2 separate regions of the Homo sapiens genome follow, and region 2 is linked to region 1. Evidence: promoter capture Hi-C in 16 types of primary human blood cells and fetal thymus (Javierre and others, 2016). All regions are on one chromosome and are shown on one strand. Each heading gives the region's core, a stretch centred on a gene start or on the middle of the fragment in contact. The rest is flanking DNA. Distances are from core to core; before and after follow the strand shown. Region 1 holds the start of IFIH1 (interferon induced with helicase C domain 1). Region 2 holds the start of ACVR1C (activin A receptor type 1C).

Region 1 (6,625 bases), core at 1,428-3,927:
ACAAAAGTCCCGTTACTCTATATCTTCTTTGTGTCAAATCCCTTGCATTACTGCTAGCTGCCTCCAAGCTTGCCAGAATCAAGAACTTGGATAAAATCTAGCTGGCGGAAATTCAATCCAGGCAAGACAAAAGTGATGCTGATAGGCAGAAGTATTTAGAGTAAATAGGGAGAAGTGCTGTTTCGCTGGCAATCGGGACATCATACCCACCAAACATAAACAGCTTTGTGGTGTTACTGGACTCTGTTGCTTCTGGACTTCTAACAGCTACTGTGGCTGGAAATGCCATCTTCCATCTCCAGCTGGCTTGAAGGCTGCATACTTTCTTCCAAATTAAGATTCTGCCACAGTGATGTACACATTTGTCATATCCAGCTGGACTACTATAATGCGTTCTAGCTGGTTCTCAATACACAAAACGACATAAACATTACAGACAACAGTGCAAAGTAATTTACTTGTTGGGAAAACTGGCCATCAAAATTAGATGCATGTTTGGGTCTTTGGACAGGCCCTGTGTCTGTCAAGTCTACAAAAGATCACTAACTTTATTCACTAAAGACTAAATTGCATCATAGGCTATAGCAAATCAATCAAATGCCCAGAAGTTTGTATGAATATACAAACAATGGATGACCCAAAAGAGAGAGAGAGAAAAAAACCATGTGAAAATCATAGAGTGGTGTAGACAAAGCCTTTGACTTTTAGTCATGGCTTTATTTGTCTACATGTCTTCCAAAACAAGACTTTTGACTTACGAGCCTGAATAAGTCACATTCAAACAGGTCAGCATTTATACACATCACAGTACATCTTCACTTATCAAAAAATAATTCATATCACATTCAATGTAAAGTCATCAGTAAAATTCGCCCTGTCAAAATGCTACCTTAAGAAAAATGAGTTTCTTCACTAACATGAAAAACTGAAACTAGCAACACATTCTTTCAATGAATTGTTTCTAAATTTTGATTCTCAAAGAATGTTGAAACTTTGATTAAAGAAAAAGGGTGTGTGTGTGTGTGTGTGTGTGTGTGTGTGTGTGATTGCAATTTACCCATTTGGGCTAAGACTAAATGGCACAAAGTGTAATGTAGGGCAAAGATTGGAAAACTTTTTCTCTAAAATGCCAGATAATAAATATTTTTGGCTTTAAGGGCACACAGTCTCCATCCAATTGCCTTTGGAGTAGAAAAGCAGCCACAAGCAATATGTAAACAAACGAGCATGACTGTGTTCCAATAAAACTTTATGAACACTGAAAATTAAAAATTGAAAAATCTGAAGACCATTCTTAGCCTGTGGGCCTGAAAAAAACAGTAGCAGGCTTGATTTAGCCCATGGGCCGTAGTTTACTAACCCCTGCTCCATGGAACTACATTAAATAAGAAAAACATTCAACACTATCACAAGCTAAATTCTTAGCTCTGCCACTGTTTTTCCTGGGAGACCTTGGACAAATTATTTAACCTGCCTCAGGTTTCTCATCTGTAAAATGGAGTTAATAACATTAGGAGCCTCAGTGGGTTACTCTGAACATGAACTGTAGTAATACATTTTGAAAATGATACCAACTGCACATAGTAAGTGTTCAATAAAAGTTACCTGTTAATACACATTACGATTCTAGAGTTAACTCCTTTTTACTTCAGTGAAAACATTAGAAAAGTAGTTCTTTTGTGTTTAAATTTTTAAAATTGTCTTAAAGTGCCTAGATGTTGTCTTCTCAAAGGAAGAAACTAGATTTGCCCAAAGAGGTCAAGCACATTTGGAAAGGGGCAAACGCACAAGGAAGCCTGCTTTGCAAAATCTGCCTAAAAGGCTAGCTCCATCTGAACAGACACCTACCCGGTTTCTGTCTTCAATTGTCAACAGTTCCTCCTCCATGCACTTATCCAAGACGTCTCTAACTAGAAGCTTGTCCACCAGAGTGGGCTGAAGGAGGTTCAGCAGTTGGAGATATTCATCATGAGCGTTCTCAAACGATGGAGAGGGCAAGTCCGTGAGCTCAGGGTTCATGTAGCGGGCGGCCAGAGGGCTGCCGGTTCTCCGGAGGGCCTCCACGAATTCCCGAGTCCAACCAAGGTGCCAGACTCCCTTCTCCAAGGTGCTCAGCAGCAGTTCAACTGCCTGCATGTTCCCGGAGGTGGCGACTGTCCTCTGAATCTGCTCCTTCACCTCTGCAGGCAGAAAGGTCAGGTAGTCCAGCACAGGCTCCACCTGGATGTACATTTTCACCCTGGCCCTGAAGCACGAGATGAGATAGCGGAAATTCTCGTCTGTGGAATACCCATTCGACATCTTTCTTTCTCAGAGAAGGGAGAGGGTTCTCCCAAGCAGATGGTGCTGTTGTCTGCGGGACAGGTGAAATGTGCGTGCCGCTGTCCGCTGCCCACTTAGAGAAGCAGGGTCTACCGCTCTGTGCCTGACAATGACGAGGTTGTCCACAGGGCTCTCAGGCCGGCGCGCGGGGCTGCACTCGCACCTGGGCAGGTGGGCAGGCGGGCAGGTGGGCAGCGGGGCGGCGCGCGGGGCCGCGGCAGGCAGGTGCGGCCGGCAGGCGCGGCACTTTGGACTCTGCGGTGTGCGCCTGGGGTCCCGGACCGGGGCGATCCTGCTGCACACTCGGGTAGGAGCTTTGAGTCCAGCTTTCTGTCAGGCAGTTCTTACAGAGTTTGCCTGACTTTGGTTTCTGTTTCGATTCTCTTCTCAGGACTTTGTAAACGTAATCTGCCTGGCGGGGAGGGAGTTTCCTCAGGGAGACGCCACCTTTTGGTCGGGGCGGGTGAAGAGAGGAGGCCTTTGGTTAAGGACACCGCGGGAAACAGAAAAGGAAAGCGAATTCTCTCTGACACCAAGACCAACGCTCTAGCAAAGCTCCTCCGGCGGATATTTTGTTTTCCCAGCAGGTTCTGCCTTAACAATAAGGTCCTTTGTAGGCCAAAATGTGCAGGGCATAAAAGCATGTGATTTGGGACTTTCCAAAGGGGAAGTGAACAGAAACTGCCACAGACCCGGACGTGAACAGGGAGTTACCCTCGGCTGGTGAATGTAGGCAGGCCTGGCTGAGGGTGGTGAGACTGCGAGGGACAGGTGAGAGATGAAGCTCAGAAGACATCTTTGCAGAGATGTGGAGAAGACAGGAGGAAGTCCTTCCTAAAATAAACCTGACCTCCTGTGGGTTCCCAAACACTAACTTGTTTCCCTGGGAATTTGGAGGTGGGTTCGAAAAAGTGAGTAACAATAAACAGTTAACTTTACTGCCTCATATTTAGATTGCTGGTATTTATGCAGCTTTGACCAGGACCTGGTAACAGATGTGGATGGACTTGAACCACCAACTCAGCTTAGAAGGAAGCCAAGACTTAAAGTTTCCTAGATCCCAGCTTGTAAGTTCCCTATATTCTTTAATATACAACTTTCCTTTAATAAAACAAAACAAAAAAATCCCCCAACAACTTATTTTTGATATAGCTGCCATTCTTTTCTTGGATTCAATACAGCAAGTTTTGGCTGGAGCAGCTAGGAACTTAATTAGCAACTAATGTACCAACTTGTAGTAAACATCAACATTTGTCTATGTCATGAGAGAAAAAAAACATATTCACACTGAAAAATGGCAGCTTCATTTTGGTACAGAAGCCACATAAATGTGAGTCCTTAAGGTTACTACTCATTCTGAAGGCATTCTGTAGCCACATGTGACTGTGGGTGGTAGGCACATACGCACCATAACTAGAATCTCATGGTCCAGAATTATATAAAGGATGGAGAGATCATTTAGGTTATCAAAGAGACATATTTAGGAAAAATAATCTGTTAGCAAAGTACATTCAATAAAGTCTGTGTAGGCCAGGAAAACCTGATAGTGCTTTGAACAGGATAATAGAAGTACAGAGTCTTGGTGAGTGTTTACTAGGGGCATACAAAATATCCAAATGAGCACTTTATGGTAACATGTCTTATTTTATTCTCTAATTATCTTATGTAGCAAGGCTTTTTCTACCCCTGAAGGATTGTAAGCTGCTTGAAGAAGGGATATATTTACATAGTAACTAGTACACTACTCACAACTGGTGGGCTCTTGATGACATCTCTCCTGGGAGTTGTATTTGAGTTGACCATAGCAGCTGGCATAATGTTAAATACACTGAAAGTTGAAGTAAATGAAACCTTGGGCTTGCAGGTAGGCCTGATTTATACTGTTCTTTTCTGTTTCTTCACAGAACCCTACTCCTTTTTCACTTAATTTTGGGAGATGACCTTGTACCCAGATAGAGGATAATCCAATTAGATGTTTCTACAAAAGCACTCAAATTATTAATTTTAAGTATTGGGTCTATGAAAATATCTTTTAAGGCTGTTGCAAAAACATACTCCTATCCCCCAGCTGCCAGTGGGTTTTATTCAACATGTTAAAGCACAAACTAACAAACCAAAAAACATTCTTTTTCCTGGCACTTATCCTTCTGTTTCTTGGTTTCAAACATGGGGGAATGAGAAGGGGTTGCTGACTGAATATGGGGAACCAGTTAATGTTATTTTCTTCATACCACTTAATTGTTGCTCTGGAAGAGAAAGGATCAAATGTTTGGTATTTGACCTGTTCTCAAATAATAAACATTTAAACCAAAGATATTTAAATATTTGGCATTCAAATTATATCATTCATTGTATCATCTAGTCATTTAAAATATGTTTATTAAGTATCTATTACATGACCAGCACTGATCTAGGTGCAGTTAATAAAATTAACAAAGCTCCTACTTTTATGGAGTTCACATTCTAATGGGAGTGGGAAGATAGATGGTAAGTAATGACTAAAAAATATGCAATGTGCAGGTGAGGATAAATGCCCTGAAGACCATAGTAAATCTACATAATAATGTATATTACAGTTTCACAGGTTGATTTCCCAAATAGTCATCCTCCTCTAACCCTATTAGCATCACATAATACCCAACAATAACAATTCATATTTTCTCACAAGTAGGAGTCTCTCTGCTGGATGAGGTCTGAGTGATGAGGATTAGGTGTGGGTGGAAGGGACTTCTTTTTTAGGAATCTCCCATAGTCTTGATGGGACCCTTTTTGGAGAAAGGAGGTTAAGGAAACAAAAGCCAAGACACAATCTCTCACAATGTATCCTTTTTTCATCTATATTTTTTGCATCATGATTTAGTTTATTTTCTGTTTTTCACTTGAGTAATTAATTGTTTTCCTCTGTCAAGTTTCTTCTACTAGGTTTCATTTTAATCCTTTTCACCAGTTCCCAAATGTAAGTTTCTTTTTCCTTTCTCTTTTGAGGCAGGAGATCCTGCTGAACTATGTATTTTCCCATTGTTATGCAACTTTTCATTTGAGTTTTTAAGAAGTAGTAACAATATGAGCTGCCACTACAATTTAACGACCATGCATAGCAATAATGTCTTTTTCAAAGAAAATGACAATAATTTTAGTTTAGTGAGAAACCCTGGAATTGTTGTTCTGTTCCTTTACTTGTTTGCTCATTTGTATCAATAATGAGCCTGCTTTGTGTAATTTAAAGTGTTAGATGCTCTTAACCTGGCAGTGTGGGGTATGGTTAAGCACAGAGACTCTGAGTTCAGGCTGTCTGAGTTCACATCTCAATACTATTTCTTAATTGCTGTGCTTTGAAAAATCACCTCAAATACATCAGTTGTAAAATGGAAAGATTCTGGTATCATGTCAGAAGTTTGTTCTAAGGATAGACTGTAACACACTAGCACCAGCCTGGCATGTTTATGTGCCCAATATGTGACTCCAGCCCACTACGCTTATATAAAAATTAAAGAAGAGATGGTGCGGTGCTAGTCTTCAAAGAATGCACAATTTATAAAGGAAAAATTTAGTTACATATATATATATATATATATATATATATATATATATATATATATATATATACACACATACATATAAACACTATATAATAGCTAGCCATTTAACTGAGACTTTAAGCAAGACTTTCAGCCATTTAACTGAAACTGATAGGCTGATTTAGCAGGAAAGTTTATTAAAAGGATACTGTCGTAGCTTTTTATTTCAAAAATAGTAGTAAGCCTAAAATAGAAAAAAAATTATGGCTAAGTTCACTAAATCTTGATAATAATTTCCTAATCACTTTCACCAATTCAATTAAAATTCTGGTTTTTAAGTTTTCACATATAAAAACTTTTCTACATAGCAGTTTTGGCAAAAAATGAAAGTCACGTATCAATAGATAAGTTTTGGAACATTCATTTTTCAAGTACTCCTTCCATAGCTTAAAGTCTTTTCAAAAACAGTTACCTGCAAATGTTTTTGTGAAAAACAGTACTTTTACCTCAAAGGCTAGATTGTAATTGTTTTATTTTACTTTATTTATTTATTTATTTATTTATTTATTTATTATTATACTTTAAGTTTTAGGGTACATGTGCACAATGTGCAGGTTGGTTACATATGTATACATGTGTCATGCTGGTGCGCTGCACCCACTAACTCGTCATCTAGCATTAGGTATATCTACCAATGCTATCCCTCCCCCCTCCCCCCACCCCACAACAGTCCCCAGAGTGTGATGTTCTCCTTCCTGTGTCCATGTGTTCGCATTGTTCAATTC
Region 2 (6,625 bases), core at 2,156-4,655, 4.7 Mb before region 1:
TATGCTTAAAGAAGGGCAAAGATGGCAACATCTTTTGCATTTATAAACTCAGTCAGCCCTGAGCTTTCACTTTCACTTCCAGCAACACTGTGGAAAACTCTTAGTGGAAACTGCTAACTATTGTTTGCAGTGGGGGTGAGGGGGTGCAGAGGGGTGCAGGGGGGTGGGGGGAAGAATTTCATTACTTGAAACCCCCACTCTCACCCTGGTTATTAAGGAAATATTTATTCCATTTTTGGAGTAACAACATAGGGCTTTCTGGACTCTTAATAATCCTTTCTGGACCAGAGGACAAAGGAGTTTCAAGAAATTAGAAGAGAATGCACAATATGTAAATCTATGTAACATCCAAATCACAGCTTCAAAGTAGAGAACTCCAGGACATTTTCTGCCACTTCTTTTTTGGGTACACATGGTGAATATTGTGAAGCCATGTCAGGTCTCTCTTATCAAACATCAAGGCATCCAGAACCTACATAACCAGAGCAACTCAGAGGAGCCTGAGTTTTTCGTTGCTCTTGTTTTTAGAGACGGTGCCTCACTGTGTCACCCAGGCTGGAGTGCAGTGGTGTGATCATGGCTCACTGCAATCTTGAACTCCTGGTCTCAAGCAATTCTGTCTCAGCCTCCCAAGTAGCTAGGACTACAGGTGTGTGCCACCAGAACTGGCTAATTGTTTTTAAATTTTTTGTAGAGATGGTGTCTCACTATGTTGCCTGAGCTGGTCTTGAACTTGCTGGCCTCAAGCAATCCTCACACCTCGGCCTCCCAAAGTACTGGGATTAGAGGCGTGAGCCACTGCACCCAGCCAGCCTGATTTTTTTAATTCCAGTCCAGACCAATAAACAGTTTTTCTAAGTCTCTACCAGCTGTTATCTTCTGAGATTCTCAAAAAGGAGCAATGGACACCCCTAAGGTGACAACAATGTGGGGAATGAGCAGCCAAAGTAAAAAAGGTTTACTGGTTTATCATGTGTTCAGATATTTAAAGTCGTAGGCCTGCTCTGCAGATCCAGATGAAAGGTGGTGCCTTCTGTCACACAGTTTCACTGACTATGTCATTACATCAAGAACAACTTCTCATATAACATTCCAACAACAGCAAGTACATGTCATAAATGGCCAATATGATTAACAGTATAATTTGTAAAAGTGACCAGGTAAAAATACAGTTGGCTAACCATGTCATAAAACCAATTGAAAAAGTGAAAAGCAAAACAAAACTACCTTGAATCTTTCTACTAAATAGCCAGAGTTTTATATAAAGTTAAGAATAAATACTATAAGTAGCAATATACATTGTTAACGTGGGACACAGAGGGGTAAAAACTTCTTAAGGAGATTTGAAAATGATTGCACTTGACATAGAAAAGTTTTTCATAAAAGTTCAGCTTCAATAAATACATCTCTACTATATTATTCCATATCATGCATTTTTCTTAGACTTCAAATTTTAAGTGAGCGACTTTGAATGGATTATCTTTTTTTTATTTTTTGCATATTTCAATGTCAAAAGTTTCCATGCCTTTTCAAGAACATGAGGCATGTTGCTATGCTCAAGGTCTCTGAAATTTTCTAAAGATTCTGGGTATACAACAAAATATACCCTTGAAGCTACATTTTAAAAAAATTGAATCTGTTTTGTAGAAATGTGTGCAGCCAAGTTATCAGCTCCTCCAAATAAAAAGAGTTGTACAGACAGCCTCCAGAGGCAGTTTCACCCCATCAAAACTGTGATACCTTGAAGACTTTTTTTTGTAAACTCTATTAAATTGTCAAGAGCACTTTCAGTATCCCAAGTTAGCAGAGTTTTCACCCATTTTTTAAAGACTTTCCCATAGTTGGTTTTCTCCCACTTATAAATTTATTAACTCTAAATGCAAATATTTCACTTTATCCCATCATCTTTCCGACAGTCTTGGGCTGTTTTCCTAAAAGATAACTGGAATGTTTTAATCCTCAGATTTTGTCAATTAATCCTTTTCAATAATCAAATTTATATTTGAATATTGTATTTAGTGATTCTCTCAGGCCATCTGAAACACTGAAATCTGTACATGACAGCAATCATATCATTCAAATCATTCTCTTGCACATGTCACTAAGAGGAAAACGACCCACCATGAATATAGCTATTAATGTCAAACAGATTGTCATCTGGGAAAACAAAATGCATCAAAATCAGCTTCGGACAAAACACAGCTCTATGGGAAAACACCAGATTTTTATGTGCAAATGTCTTCAATGTCTGATAGAAATTTTTAAAGAATGAGTTAGCAAAGAATCTGCTCCTCCTCTGCATAATCCAGGACAATGTAATGAAAATAGTTTTCGAGGTAAAGGGCTTTTAGTCACAGCATATTATGATTTTACCAAAGATGCATTTGCCCCACTTTCTAGTAAACATTATAAAGAAACGTCTGGCTTCTAGATTGGGTAGAGGGCTCTATTTAGCCTATCAAGGCACAGACCTGTTATAAACTCTGGGGCGCTTGCCAGAATTTTTTTCCCCAGGAACTCTGAGTAAAGATCGTACCTCGAAAGCAATGTGCGTTGCAAACCACACAGATTTAAGCTCCCACTCTCGCCTCCATAGCTTGGCATCTGCGGCTTTTGGGGTATTCCCCGCCTCCTAAAACTCAGACTAAATCACCACCTCCCACCACCACCATGCCACCATCCTTGAGCAGCTCTCAGGGGCTTAGCACAGAGCGCGTCCGACGCATACCTGCAGCCCTCCAGGTCCCTGCAGGGTGAACCCAGCTCCCAGCCATGCGCGCACCCACAAACGCTCTCCTATTTTCTCCGCTGCAAACTGCCCACAAATTAGTCACCCACCTCACCCCTACTACTTATTCCCCCACGTCCCTGCTGCCTTTTCCCTCTTCCGGGCGGCTTCGTCCCCAACACACCTGTCTACCCCTACGGCTGCCAGACGTCAGGTGCCCACGCTGCACCCTATCCCGCGCCCCCTCAATCCGACTGGCGCTTCCCTGTCCGCCCCGAAGGTCAGTTTGCTCGGAGCACCCCCTGTCCCCCACCCCCGTGCTCACCCGCAGACCTCCTCCCAGCTCCCACCCTCGCGGGCGTCGGGAGAGAAACCAGCACCGTACCTGGCGAGAGCTCGGCGGCCGCTGCGAGCAGCAGGAGAGCCTGGCGGAGCGCTGAGCAGAGCGCCCGGGTCATCGCCACCAGGCGGCCGCGCCGGGGCTGCGAGGCCCCAGAGCAGAGCGAGGCAGCCGGGGCAGCACGGCCCGCTTTGAAGTTCCCGGGCCGCGGGAGGGGAGCGCGGCACCGACACCCTTTTGAAGTGCGCGGTTGGCTCTAGTCAGTGTGGGCGCCCCCCTCCCCGGCCGCCCCCATCCCACGCCCCCTGCGGCTGGCGGTGCGCGGCGCTCCTGCCACTGGCCCCGCAGCCGGGCGGGGAGCGGGTGGTGGGGCGGGCGGCAGAGCCCGCCCCTGCCGCGCCTCCGCCCCCTGCGCCCTCTCGCAGCCGCCCGGGCCTGCTGCTGCAGGGCAGGCAGGCAAAGGCGGCCCTGTGCCCGGCAGTGAGATCGCCCAGAGCTGGGGCGAAGAAAGAGGGGGCGTGGGGAAGCAGTGCGGAGCCTCCGGGACTAGATACTCAGGAATGGGGCTTCTCACGGGAGGAAAAGCCCCACTGAGACTTTAGGGAAACTTCAACTACGCGGCGATTGCGCCCAGGTGATCCGCTCTATAACCTCCCGCAGAAGAGCCAGCCTCCTAGCTCTCCTGACGTTTGTTGTCCAGGGTCCTTAAGTCCAACCAGGTTGCGCTGTGAGAGCCCCGCGGGCTTCCTACTGGCTTGTCCCACCCCTGCGTCCTGGCCATTTGTGCCTCTGGGGAAGGGCGCCCTCTCTGTTCATCCCTGGAAATGACCAGTTGTCCGACTGCCTTCTGGACCTATAAGCTTTGGTTTAACAAACTTCATCTCTTCTTGGGTGCCTTTTGGGAACCCTTCCCTCTATGAATGGCGACCAAAGCTGGACCACCTGCGCCAGGTGATGTGGCCATCTACAATGTGTGACCCACGTCTGGTGGTAAAAGACCTCACCTATGGAAGATAATTTCGGCAGCTACAACTTCAGCAATTGAAGAACTAAGGGAACATACACACACACACACACACACACACACACACACACACACACACACGGATTAAGGGAAGGGGAAGAATTGTTTAAAGTAGTATATGAAAAACTTGTTTGAGTATTGTTTAATCCCTAGAGGCTAACTGTCAAACGGGTGCCTGAAAATATAAGGCCTGGATTGTGCCTGAAAATATAAGGACAACGGCAACATTACCAATTTATAGAAATTAAATTCAATTCACCTATGGAGCCTGAACATTAAAGTGAATGGGATTATTTCAATCTGAACAACGCGAAAAAGCAAGAATACAATACTGGTGTTATTACTACTGTTGGGGGTTCCTTGAAAAGTGATAGCGTCATAAAAATTGCTTTAGAGTAAAACATTTCTTGCTTCTTCACCTAGCTCAGGACTAAATTATATGCTAGGTGTTCTAAGTTCTATGAAAGACCTATGGTGAAATGTTGTATGTAATTGACTTTATTATCAAAGGATCACAGTATGGGAGATGAGATGGTTGTTGGACTTTGAGATGTGGGTGGCATCCTGAGGATCTTTTCTGCCACCATCTTATATTCCTAAGCACAAAAAAACTTTGTTCTTGTTTTATCCTGGATCCAAACAAACAAAAAACTGGAGATGTGGGACAAATCTGAGCCCTTTCAGACACCCACAAAACAGATGCTTTTTTAAAAAGGCAAGAAACTGCTAGGACACATTATATTTTGTCTGGTTTGGCTTGCTAATTATTTGATAACTGCACCTTAAATTGTGATCTGCCAATAGATCATGATACCGGGAGCCTAAATAGCAGAATGTAATGAACTTTCTGGGTCTGCTTCCTCAAAAGTAAATGGAACTTAATTCCTCCCTATTTCCCAGAACTTTGACCAGGATCAAAAAGGGTAGTGTATGAGAGAGCATTGTTAAACCATACACATTACAACAATGGCAGGGATTTACTCCCCACATACTTATTTTGTCTCTAAAGCAACATCCTCTGCAAGTTGTAAAGCTCTCATTTGCAAAAAAAAAAAAAAAAAAAAAAAAAAGGCCGGTCGCGGTGGCTCACGCCTGTAATCCCAGCACCTTGGGAGGCCGAGACGGGCGGATCACGAGGTCAGGAGATCGAGACCATCCTGGCTAATATGGTGAAACACCGTCTCTACTAAAAATACAAAAAATTAGCCAGGTGTGGTGGCGGGTGCCTGTAGTCCCAGCTACTCGGGAGGCTGAGGCAGGAGAATGACGTGAACCCAGGAGGCAGAGCTTGCAGTGAGCCGAAATGGCGCCACTGCACTCCAGCCTGGGCGACAGAGCAAGACTCCGTCTCCAAAAAAAAAAAAAAAAAAAGCTTATTATTCCAAGAAGTCAAATATTGAATAACTCCAATATTCTACACAAACTCAATGCTTTCCTCTTAGTCTAATGGTGCGTTATCAACACGGTAGCCACTAGCCACATGTGAATATTGAGCCCCTGAAATGTGCCTAGACTGAATCGACATATGATGTAAATAAAAAATACATGCTAGATCCAAAGATTTAGTACAACAATAAGAATGTAAAAAATACATTACTAATAATTTTATCTTGCTTAAATGTTGCAATGATAGTATTTTGGACATAGAGTTGAATAAAATATATTATTAAATCAATATTACCTATTTCTGTTTACTTTTTAGTGTGACTACCAGAAAATTTTAAATTACACAGGTGGCCCACATTACAACTCTACTGGACAGTACTGGTCTAAAGAATCCTTAACAGATGGCAAGGATCCTTACCTTGTCTTAAGAACAGTATATATATAGAAAAAAAAAAGAGTAGTTAGGTATCTTGTCAGTCAGTATATGGCCAGCCAATAAAGGAATCAGGATCTTTTAAATTATTGGTTCAAAGTTCTGTAAAACATCAAGAAAGGTTAGTACATCAAAAATCTAAGTACTTTATTTGTAGGAATATTTTAAACTAGGTCTTTAAATACCATTTTCCCCACCCTCTTGTGCATGTTCCAATATCAGTACTATGAAAGCTTTGCAGTAAGATGTTAACTACTCTCAGTGTATTGAATCCTAATAGCTAGTAAAGTGTACTCTTAGGAAATTATAAATATTCGTTATATGCTTGAGTTCTTAATGCCACACTCATGGCAACCAAGAAAAGATCTTAGTCCTTATAATGTGTCCCAATTATACTTTATTTACACACACACACACACGTCCATGGAAATTAATCCGGTCTTAATCCAATGTCTTTTGAAATGAACCATTAATAAAAAATACTCTTTGGACCATATTTAGTTGTTCATGTCATTGAATATAAACAATAGAAATGCATTATTCAAGATGTGATATAACACGTCTTTCTTTCATATTTTTGCACATAACAGAAAAAGATTTACATGCAAGATTCTTTTATTTCACTGGAAAGAATTTACATGCAAATGTGTTTTTTCAAGATTTAACATCCCCCCCGCCACCTTAATCATCTATTTGTACATATTCATTGCCATA

What was found. Contacts are between HindIII fragments. The CHiCAGO score rates a contact against its expected background, and 5 or more counts as called.
Region 2: the fragment with the promoter of ACVR1C here is called in contact with the fragment with the promoter of IFIH1 in region 1 in 1 of 17 cell types (non-activated CD4 T cells); the score reaches 6.0 in non-activated CD4 T cells.

What each region holds. Positions count from the first base shown.
Region 1 is chr2:162,316,007-162,322,631 of GRCh38, forward strand. IFIH1 (interferon induced with helicase C domain 1) reads right to left here and starts at 2,678. Exons shown (of 16, transcript NM_022168.4): 1 at 1,849-2,678. The coding sequence starts at 2,301. It also overlaps a transcript of GCA not described here. RefSeq lists a silencer at 2,473-2,562 and enhancers at 2,593-3,142, 2,711-3,910. The HindIII fragment of the contact is 6,386 bases long and covers 1,916-6,625 here.
Region 2 is chr2:157,625,459-157,632,083 of GRCh38, forward strand. It overlaps ACVR1C (activin A receptor type 1C), which reads right to left and starts at 3,406. Exons shown (of 9, transcript NM_145259.3): 1 at 3,114-3,406. The coding sequence starts at 3,186. RefSeq lists a silencer at 3,121-3,350. The HindIII fragment of the contact is 11,498 bases long and covers 1-3,926 here.